2 separate regions of the Homo sapiens genome follow, and region 1 is linked to region 2. Evidence: promoter capture Hi-C in human tissues and cell types (Jung and others, 2019). All regions are on one chromosome and are shown on one strand. The core of a region is centred on a gene start or on the middle of the fragment in contact, and the rest is flanking DNA. Distances in the headings are between cores, read along the strand shown.

Region 1 (5,337 bases), core at 2,466-4,965, 33 kb before region 2:
GTAGGTTGTGAAATCATGACTGAGCCGATTGACATCATCTCCTTATTTGGGAGGCAGGAAGTTGTTCCCCACCCCCACCCTCTTGTCCTTCCAGGGCCCCATCCTGCGCCCCCACCCCACCCCACTGTCCAGTTTCCGGCTTCCTGAGGGTCTTTGAGACCTCGCCGTTTGCTGGCCTGGATGACAACTATTTTTCCCTGGTTTGAGAGCGAGAGAGTGTGTGAGTGTGGACTGTGTGCACCAGAGGGCCAGAGAGGCAGTGGTGAGGGTCACTCAGAACAAGCCAGTCCCAAGAAGTTAAAATTAGCTCTGGGAACTGGAATGTCGGGGTCTTCAAGGAGCAGCAGCTGTGAAAAGAAAGTACAAGGCGAGGAAAGAAAATACACCCCATCCCACACCCGCCACAAACCTCGCTCGCCCACTTCATCTGCCCTGGGGTCTCTGCAGCTTCTCACTCCTCCCGGGATATCTCTGGCCAAGTCCTTGAGGCCGATCAGTGGGAATTTCCCCCTGTATGCTGTCATTTTCCTCTCTGGTAACCACAGAACAAGGTGGCTGAGGATTCCTGATAGGACAAGGTTTAATTGAAAAACAGGAAAGTGGAGGACAACTTTGGGGCTGGGGTGGTGACGATAATGAGAAAATGACAGGCGAGAGGGTGACAGTGGAGGAGGGTCGCATAGCAAGGAGGGTTCGCCACAAACGGAAACTACTCCTGGGAGAGCTGGACACGTGAGCGTTAAGAGTTTGGGCATGGCTGGCAGGAGCGGGAGGCCTGGGAAAGGCTAGAGATAGAGAAGGGGAGGAGGAAGGCTGGGGGACTGTGCACCCCTTTGCACAGAGACAAAGATTGGGTGTTCAAAAAAAGATCACACACCACTGAATGCAGGATCTTGTGTTTTTGAATGGTTGGAGCTTATGTGTCAAACTCAGGCTGTGTGGAAGAACCTTAGAGAAGGGCCAGGAGCCAATCTGAGATGGAGAACTTATAGAGAGTAATCCCTTATAAGCTGGGTCTGAGATTCCAGTCCTGTAAACCCAGGGGCCCTCCAAGCACTAGGCTTCCTCTTCCAGCTCTTTGTCCAGATGAGAGAGGCTGGTTTTCAAGGTTTTTGTTGTTGTTGTTCATTTGTTTGGTTTTTGTTTCTGCTGAAAAACCAGGTAGCTTGCACCTCTGTGGTTTGGAGAACTGGAGGAGGTATTTGGAGCCATACAATTCTGCCCGACATGGGGAGAAAGACTGGGGCGTGGGTGAGATATAGAGCCTTTGGAAAAGGCACTTAGGGAAGGGATCAGGTGGAAGTGGGTATGTGCTGAGCACCTTTTGTGCTTTCCATGACCCCAGCTGTGTATCTGCAGGCTTTCTTCTTCTACTTCTCATGATCACCTAGAATAGAAGCTCCAGGAGGAAGAAACATGTACAATTTTCTTTACCAAGAAATTCCCAGCACTGGAAACAATGCCTGGCACATAGTAGGCCCTCCACAACAACCTGTTCAATCAGCGTGATACAGCAGTTCTGCAAGGTCACTGCTGTTGCCATCTTTTATAGATGAGGGACCTGATGCTCAGAGAAGTGGAATCATTTTCTCAATGACCCACAGTGAATGAAAGCCAAGATTTGAATCTCCGCACCCAGAAGGCCATACCTATTGCATCGCACAGCCAATCCTATTCTTATGCACTGCTGTTTCACATCATCACCTGATTTTGTCCTAGGCTCCTGTCCCCACCTCCGTGAGCCCTTCTACTTTCATCATGTCACTGAGAACCAAATATCTTGATGTTTTCCCCCAGGTACCCAGTCTAGGATTCCCAGATATGCTCCAATTCATCCTTCCTCTAAATAAATAAAGTATCAGTCCCTTGTACCCTTCAGAATAAACCTTTCCAGAGGTTTACTTTGGTTGAGTGGGAATGGGTATAGACAGATTCCAGCTGAATGCTGCACTGACTGGGCAACACTCCAGATTATAGAATTAAATACGCTGATACTAAAATACAGGACTTACGTGTGCAATTCTGATAGACAGTTGGGTATCCACAGTAGACCATTTGCGACCCCATGGTCTCAACTTCCTTCTTTCCCCTGACAGTTCTTACATCTCTCCCTCCCTTCCAAATCCAAATCAGTTATAGGCCTGTGCCTTCCGGGATAGAATGAATCCTATTCTCCAATCATCGGAATTGACTCAATCCCTACTGCGCATCAGGGATGCTACACATGTTATTTGTGTACTTTGCACACCTGCCTACTCACAACTCCTTTTCCTCTGCCCACAAGCACACTTGGGGTTTTGCTTTCGTAAATAAAGTCAAGTGTTCTTCTGACCCTCAAGTAGCCTTCTCTTCTTATTTTTGTCTCCACGTTTCTTAAAGGAATATTATCTGGTTACTGCTTTCATGTCCCCTGCAATCCAGTTTCTGCTCCCACTACTTTCCTAGGATTGCTCCTTCAAATGATTGCTGGTGACTTCACACACACACATACATGCACACACACACTCTTATTTGCATGATTTATCTTCCCTCATTTTGAGATCCATGTTTTGACTGAATTTTCATTTGATTGGAATACATCCTTAAGTAATTTCCTCAGAAAGGGCCTATGGATGGTATCCTAGGGTGTTAGAGCCCCTCTAATATGAATGGCGTCATGACTAGGTAAGGGAATTCTAGTTCATATTCATGTCTTTCATTAGTGTAAGAACATTATTCCACTGTCTTTGAACTTACATTGTTGCAGATGAGTAATCCGGTATCAGCTTTCTTTTCTTTTATTTTCTTTGTAAGTAGACTGTAATCTTTCTTTCTCTGAGAACATTTAGGATTTTCTCTTTAGAGCTCAGAATTGTCACCAGATTTTGTCTTTGTATTGATTTTATCATTCATCTTTCTAGGACTTGGGGACTCTTCTCTACCAACACTTCCTTCTCTTGTTGATCTCACTCAGCCTCATGACTTTAAATATAATCTATGTGTTAACTACTCCCAAATTTACCTAGACTCAATTGCTTCTTCAACATCTTCCCCTGGATGTCTAACACGCATTTCTAGTTTAACATGTCACCCCTTTGATCAGACAAATTAGGTATTTCTTTAGTTCAGAGACATTTTCTTCTATTATATCTTTAAAAGTATCATTTCTCTTCCAGTTACTCCTCTCTCTCCTTCCAAAGTTCCAATTATTTGCACATAGCTCTGTTGGGTCTGTTCCTTCATGCCCCCTATCTTTTTGCTCATGATTTCCTTTTCTTTGCATTTCTGCTAAGTGCCCTGAGATAACCCAGCTCTGGCTTCCTTCTGGGAAAATTCAGTGGTCTTTCTCCTTCTCCTTGGTCTCCCTGAATAACTTTATACTCCTTTTCTTTCAACTGTCTCATTTCTAGGCTGCTGGAAAGACATGCTTCATCTACATATTCGCCCCTTTCTCTGCCTTCTTTGATGGATGGCTTTCCTCTTTTTACCCCTAAAATTAGGATGTTTCCCAAGTTTATGCCCAACTCTCTTCTCTTTATATTTCTTTCCTGGGAGACCTCACCTACATTCTCAGGTTCAATCGCCACCTCTTTGCTGATGATTCTACCTTTATCCCAGACCTCCTTCTGAGCTCCAAGCCATATATGTATAATCAACTGCTTCCTGGATATCTAATGTGTGTATCCCATGGGCATTTCAAATATATGTTCAAAACAAATCTTGCCTTTCTATGTACTATAAACACTCTGTTTTATCTTATTTTTTCTCTTGGTTGCAAAAATATACCACATCTGAACATGGCTGGAGAAAACTGTGACCATGAACTGCAGGACTCATCCCATAGTACTTCCTGAGCCCATTCATTCTCCTACTCTTCCAGGCAACTATTTAACATTGCTTCCTTTCATCTCACACTTCTCATATGTCCTTCTCCTCTAGATTCTCAGTGACGATGATTTTGTTTCAAATTTCATTGAAAACATTAGAAGCAATAAGAAGAGAACTGCCAAAGCTCTCAGCACCACATCTACCCACCTTCCAGTACCTATTCCATATACCCTGCTTTCCCTCTTGCTCCTTTGCATGAACCCTGTGCTCCTACTCCATGGAAACCCTTCACTTGTGCTCTAGGTATCACCCCTTTCGCCGATTCTAGGACAATGCTCCACCCACATCTCCTCTTTCTCCGGCATCCACTTTTCTTTTTCTAATGGATCATTTCCATTCATTTCAACACGCCATTGTAATATCTTCCTTAAAAATAAAAACCCTTTCTTGACCCTATATTCACCATCAATTACCACCCATTTCCCCCCTGTTCTACTTTACAGCAAAAAGTCTATACCTCTGGATTCTGCTCTCTCTTTCATTCTCTCTCGACCTCACTCCCATCCCTCCACCTGCTATGGTCATCAATGACCTCCATGTTGCCAAATATAATGGCAGAATTTCAGCTCTTGTTTTACTTCGCTATGAAGCTGCACTTGACATAGTTGATCATTCCACCTCTTTGAAACACTTTCCTCACTTGGCTTCTGGGACACCACTCTCTCACTCTTGATTCTCATCAGCTGAGTTGAACTCAGTCAACTTTGCCGGTGGCTCCTTATCTCCCTGACTTCTGTGTTTGTTTTTTTTTTTTTTGGAGACTGAGTTTTGCTCTTGTTGCCCAGGCTGGAGTACAGTGGCGCGATCTCGGCTCAACGCAACCTCCGCCTCCCGGGTTCAAGTTATTCTCCTGCCTCAGCCTTCCTGAGTAGCTGGGATTACAGGCATGCGCCACCATGTCCAGATAAATTTGTATTTTTAGTAGAGATGGGGTTTCTCCATGTTGGTCAGGCTGGTCTCGAACTCCCGACCTCAGATGATCCGCCTGTCTCGGCCTCCCAAAGTGCTGGGATTACAGGCATGAGCAACTGCGCCTGGCCTCTCCCTGACTTCTAAACACTGTAGCACTCCTGGCTCTGCTCTTCTCTCTCCACACTCCCTCCCCTATTGATCTCATTCAGTCTCATGACTAAATATCATCCATGTGTTGACAACTCCCAAATTTACATAGATTCAACTGCTTCTTTAACATGTCCCATTGGAGGCCTAATAGGCATTTCTAGTCTAATATGTCAGCAGGCAAACCCTGACTTCTAGCCCCCCTGACTGTTCAATCTGCAGCTTTCCCCATCTCAGTTGATGGCAGCTCCTTTCATTTGCTCAGCCCCGAAACCTTGGAGTCACCCTTAACTTTTTCTCTTGCACTCCACATCCAATCCATCAGCAAATTCTCCTTCAAAATAAAATCAGAATTGACCTCGTTTTACCACATCTATCACTAACTCCTGATCCAAGGCAAATTCACCTCCA
Region 2 (5,209 bases), core at 404-2,903:
TATGGCTAAAGTGCTCAAAGGGGAAAAAGGAGTTTCAAAAATGTTCTTGGAAATACCATCTCTCACGAATTCTTCGGCCTCTGCTGTCCCAATGTCACTTGTCTGAGATGTAAACAGAGGAGTTCTGAGAAAGAAGCTGAACTTGCATTTCTCCCTGTTTCTATTTGTTCCAAACTTGTGGCATTTCTAACAGGATGAAGCGGAAGAGAAAGGGAAAGAGACAAAAGTGTAGAAAGATGGAAGATCCCAGCTGCAAATGGCCATTTGCAGTTAGATGGAACAGCTGCTGACGTTCAGGGAAATGCATGTCTCTCTTCAGATGGGAAGGAGCAGTGGAAAGGGGTGACGAGTTCCTGGCTGGCCACCAATCATCCCATCTTTCTGTGCCGGTTCCTCATCTGGAAAGTGGGAGTGATACTTGTGCTTGCTTTTCCTACCCACAAAGATTATTGTGAGAGCTATAATACGGTGAGATACAGAATCCTGCTTTTAAAAATACAAAGCAGAATCAAGATGTCAATAATAAGGATAGTAATTGTGTTAGTTATCTGCAATCATCTATTATAGCTAGTCGTCTAGGATCCTGGATCGTTCTCCTGGTTTTACTACAGTTTTGGATCAGCTCACCCCCAAATCCCTTGCTGAAGGGTGGAGCTCTGTCAGCCATGGGCAGGGAACCACTTCCTCTTGCCTTTCTACTTTCTGTCTTTCAAACATGCCCAGGGTCTTTGCACTTGCTGTTCCCCCTGCCTGGTACCTCTCTCCTGTGGCTTGCCCCAGAGCTGATCCTTGTCTTTGTCCACTTCTCAGCGAGGATGGCACTTCAGGGAGCCCTTCCCTTACTATCGCAGAGAGAGCAGGCCCTCCCCAGTCATGTCCAACCCAGAACTCTGTTTTGTTTTCTTCATAGCCCTAGCATCACAGAAAATCACCCTGTGCATTCATGGATGTCCACGGGGGCAAGGGCTTTGTGTTGCTTAACCCAGCATCCTGAACCGTGTTTGTTGAATGAATACAGAACCCCGTTTGCTCTGGGAGAGCACAGAAAACAGTCTTCTATCATATATCATAGCCAGCTGCAAACAGCAGATGGCTTCCCATATCCCAGAGAGTAAGAACCAGAGAGAGAGAGAAAGAGAGAGAGTTTGGGTCTTTCTCCTCTGTGCCTGCTCTCTCCAGAGAAACTGGAGGGGTAGCAGTTAGCATTCCCCCGCTGGTTCCACCAAGCACAGTCAAGGTCTCTAGGACATGGCCACCCCTCACCTGTGGAAGCGGTCCTGCTGGGGTGGGTGGGTGTTAGTTGGTTCTGGTTTGGGTCAGAGACACCCAGTGGCCCAGGTGGGCGTGGGGCCAGGGCGCAGACGAGAAGGGGCACGAGGGCTCCGCTCCGAGGACCCAGCGGCAAGCACCGGTCCCGGGCGCGCCCCAGCCCACCCACTCGCGTGCCCACGGCGGCATTATTCCCTATAAGGATCTGAACGATCCGGGGGCGGCCCCGCCCCGTTACCCCTTGCCCCCGGCCCCGCCCCCTTTTTGGAGGGCCGATGAGGTAATGCGGCTCTGCCATTGGTCTGAGGGGGCGGGCCCCAACAGCCCGAGGCGGGGTCCCCGGGGGCCCAGCGCTATATCACTCGGCCGCCCAGGCAGCGGCGCAGAGCGGGCAGCAGGCAGGCGGCGGGCGCTCAGACGGCTTCTCCTCCTCCTCTTGCTCCTCCAGCTCCTGCTCCTTCGCCGGGAGGCCGCCCGCCGAGTCCTGCGCCAGCGCCGAGGCAGCCTCGCTGCGCCCCATCCCGTCCCGCCGGGCACTCGGAGGGCAGCGCGCCGGAGGCCAAGGTTGCCCCGCACGGCCCGGCGGGCGAGCGAGCTCGGGCTGCAGCAGCCCCGCCGGCGGCGCGCACGGCAACTTTGGAGAGGCGAGCAGCAGCCCCGGCAGCGGCGGCAGCAGCGGCAATGACCCCTTGGCTCGGGCTCATCGTGCTCCTGGGCAGCTGGAGCCTGGGGGACTGGGGCGCCGAGGCGTGCACATGCTCGCCCAGCCACCCCCAGGACGCCTTCTGCAACTCCGACATCGGTAAGCGCTCCTGGTGCCCCGCCCGAGCCCCACGCTGCAGCCAGGACTGCAGCGCTGCTTAGGGAGGCAGGGCGAGCCCCACTCCTTTCCTCTGCCCCAGGAGAGGGGCAGACGGGGTTGGGGCGGAGTGGAGAAACTCGATGTCCTTGGGCGGGGGCGCTGGCATAGCTGAGAGGGGAAGATGCCCTGCAGAGGAAACTCACAGTGGCTGAGGGAGCCCCTGGCCGCCTTTGCTTTCCTAACTTAGGTCGTGAGGTTCCTACCGGTCCTTTTGACATCTGGAAAATGTCCCCATTCACTACTAACGGAGGAAGGGCTAGAAGAGAAGGGTGGGGAAAGGGTTCCCAAAACTTGGAATGCTAACTAAAGTGCTGGGAAATTGAATAGTTAAAAAAAAAAAAAAAAGTTGCCCGCCATGTGCACGGAAAGTTGCAGGAGAAACTTGGAGTACTCCGAGTCTGCATCATCTCCTGCGCCTATGAAATTCATTCTTTTCACTGAGACCCAACCCAGCTGCAGGCTTCCCAGGCAAGCGCTAACCGAGCTTCTGGGACTGCCAAGTTTGGGTGGATTTAAGGGGGAAAATGAGGAGAAAGCTGTGGCATTGACCCACGCCCTGGAGGCACTGTGTTTGAGAGTGTTGATAGCCAGCAGAAGGTGCGAGGGGTCACTCACCACATAGCTGTGAAAATTCACAGGAAGGCTATTTTTTTCCCCCTTGAATGTGTGTGGGGAGGGGGAGAATGGGTAGTGGAAAACAGATTTGTCACCAAAAGAACAAACCTGCCAAGGGTCACATCACGGTGACAGTTCCAGACTGGACTTAGTGTCTTGAGTAGAGAGACCCTGTAAAGAGACCTCCTACTCCTTAGTGTGTATGGAGGGCCCCGAGAGCATCCTGGGAGGCTTGTCTGGGAGTGTTTGGGACACTTGTGTTTGGATGGCTAAAGGTGGAGTGGCATCTGGGAAACATCTCTCTCCTCCTTTCCAGCCCATAAAGCGTGCAAGTCCAGTGGCTCTGCTGGGAGAGTGTGTGTGTGTGCACTGGGCTGGGCTGGGCGGTGGGGTGGGACAGCCTTGCCGCCCTCTGCCTGTGTCGATTCAGAGGTGAAGAATGGAGCGTGTGTGTTTTAAGTACAGTCATAAAGGAGAAGGAAATTTTCCACTGAGTCTTGGGTGAGGGACTCTACCAGCGTGTTGTGGTGAGGAGGGGGAGGAGGTAGGAGCTTGGCAGGGGAGGCAGTGAGGGCCGGGAGGGGCACTGCTGGTGGGCTGGGCTGAGCCTAGAGGTCAGAGTGGGGGTGTGGTGACCAGAATGTCAGTGCAGTTGGCAGCTGAGGGTGTTTGTGTGACCTGAGGTCACCCTTGTAAGAGGCTCCCTGGGGCCTGCATGGTACATCCTCCCCTCTCCTGGGGGAACCCAGCTGGCCCAGGATTTGTGGATTGCTTAGAAAGATCCTTTTGGGCAGCCTGAAGACTGGGGAGGGTTTTCCTCCCTCCTCCACCTCCACCCACATTCCACTTACCCTTTCCCTCCTCATCCCAGTTGGTAACATTCCCACCTGATTAGTGTGGGGAGTTGCTGCTGCAGCTGAGTTCTGGTTTTGCCCAGCAGGATCACACACGTGCGGCCAGGAGGCTGGCAGGTGGAATCAGGGTGTGCAGGGGTGCAGCCCAAGTCCTTTTCTGCTGGAAAATGGGCTGGGTGACTTCACTTGCGTTTTTTTGGTATGTAGTGGGAGTAGGTCCCCATTCTTCCCCCTTGCCCTTTGCTTTGGGGTTTCTACCCTAAAAATTGACCACGGAAAAGTGAAAACAAGCATGAGTAGATCCTGCTTCCAATGGGGGCCTTCCCGTCTGCTTACTGCTTAGGTTTCCTGCGGTGGGTCTGAGCAATGCAGAAAGTTTCTTACAATTTCTCTGGATTGAAACAAGAAATAGCTCCCTCGCTCCTCTTCATAAATTTCTCAGAGAAAATCTAAGTTACCAGGAAGTAGCCAAAGACCAGGAGATTGTGGAATCAAAAAGAAAAAAAGAAACAAAAAATCTTCGATGCTCTGGCACGGATCCCAAATTGTTCTGCCTGGGTTTGGTGAGCTGCACTAGTGGCAGGGATGAGCTAATGCTTTTAAAATGGGAGGTGTGGGTGTGAGCTGCTTGCCTGCCGACCTCCCTCGCCTTGCACAGCACCCTGCTGGCGTCCAGTACTTGGCTCCCAAGTTTCATTGCTCAGAGCCTTTCTGGTTTCCAGTCTGGGTTGAAACTGTCTATTCTCGCCCTCAAACAAATATGAAGGAGCTCCCCATTCCTTGGGACCCACACAACCCCACCAGTCAACTTTGTAGCCCCCTAAAGGTGTTCACATCAGCCCATCAACTTCCTGTTTTAAAACCATCATGGTGGTTTTCTCTTCATGGCTTGGTGCCATGTTGGCCTAGCAAAAGGCACAGGAGGCCTGGCCTGGTCCTCTCCGGGGGGCTGCCCGATGGCCTTTCCTCCTGTCTCTGCTCATCCACAGGTGTCTCTTTTTGTCTTTTTTCCCCAAAGTCCTAGGGCCTGGCATGGCATTCTGGGGGAGGAGGAGTTAAAAGGTGTTTCTATGGCAACTCCAGGCCCTGCACCCTATGGAAGTGTTTAGGAGAAGAATAAACTACATGCCGGCTTATAAGACACACTGTGGGGGAAAGAAAGGGACTTGGCAGCAGGCAGGATGTCTGTGGTCCCCCTCCCTGGCCAGTCATTGCCCCTGAAACTCCTGACAAAACCTTGACTCTAGAAGAGGAATGGGAGGGGGCTGGAGATGAAGAAGGCGGCCTCGGCCCGGGCAAATCTGCCCTGGCAGCTCTGTCCAGCTCAGGAAGGGGTGGGCTGTGCCAAGGGCTTTCTGAAAATGTGCGTGTGTGCGTGTGTGTGTGTGTGCGCGTGTGTGGCTTCTGCAAAGGTGGCTGGCAGGGCTGAGGGGGGTTGCAGCAGAGAAAGAGAATTTTGCTTCAGAATGCCAAGCCCTTCTCTCCTTCTCTCTTGCCGCCTTTGCATGGGAGGAATGGGGCTGTAGGATGAAGTGTGTTCGGGGCCTGCCTCTGAGCCTGTTGGGAATTTGAGCATGAGGCTCAGCTGGGGGGCCGGCTGCCAGCCCCA

Evidence for each region. The method cuts DNA at HindIII sites, captures the fragments that hold promoters and counts their contacts. A contact is called where the count stands out against the background at its distance.
Region 1: a fragment that was not itself captured here is called in contact with the fragment with the promoter of TIMP3 in region 2 in 1 of the 25 tissues and cell types used here (thymus).

Annotation. Positions count from the first base shown.
Region 1 is chr22:32,764,910-32,770,246 of GRCh38, forward strand. The region is part of intron 6 of SYN3 (synapsin III); the gene reads right to left. Among named protein-coding and RNA genes, the nearest start is that of TIMP3, 34 kb to the right of the region's middle. The HindIII fragment of the contact is 6,907 bases long and covers 263-5,337 here.
Region 2 is chr22:32,800,052-32,805,260 of GRCh38, forward strand. TIMP3 (TIMP metallopeptidase inhibitor 3) reads left to right here and starts at 1,654. Exons shown (of 5, transcript NM_000362.5): 1 at 1,654-2,071. The coding sequence starts at 1,951. The region is part of intron 6 of SYN3 (synapsin III); the gene reads right to left. The HindIII fragment of the contact is 19,598 bases long and covers 1-5,209 here.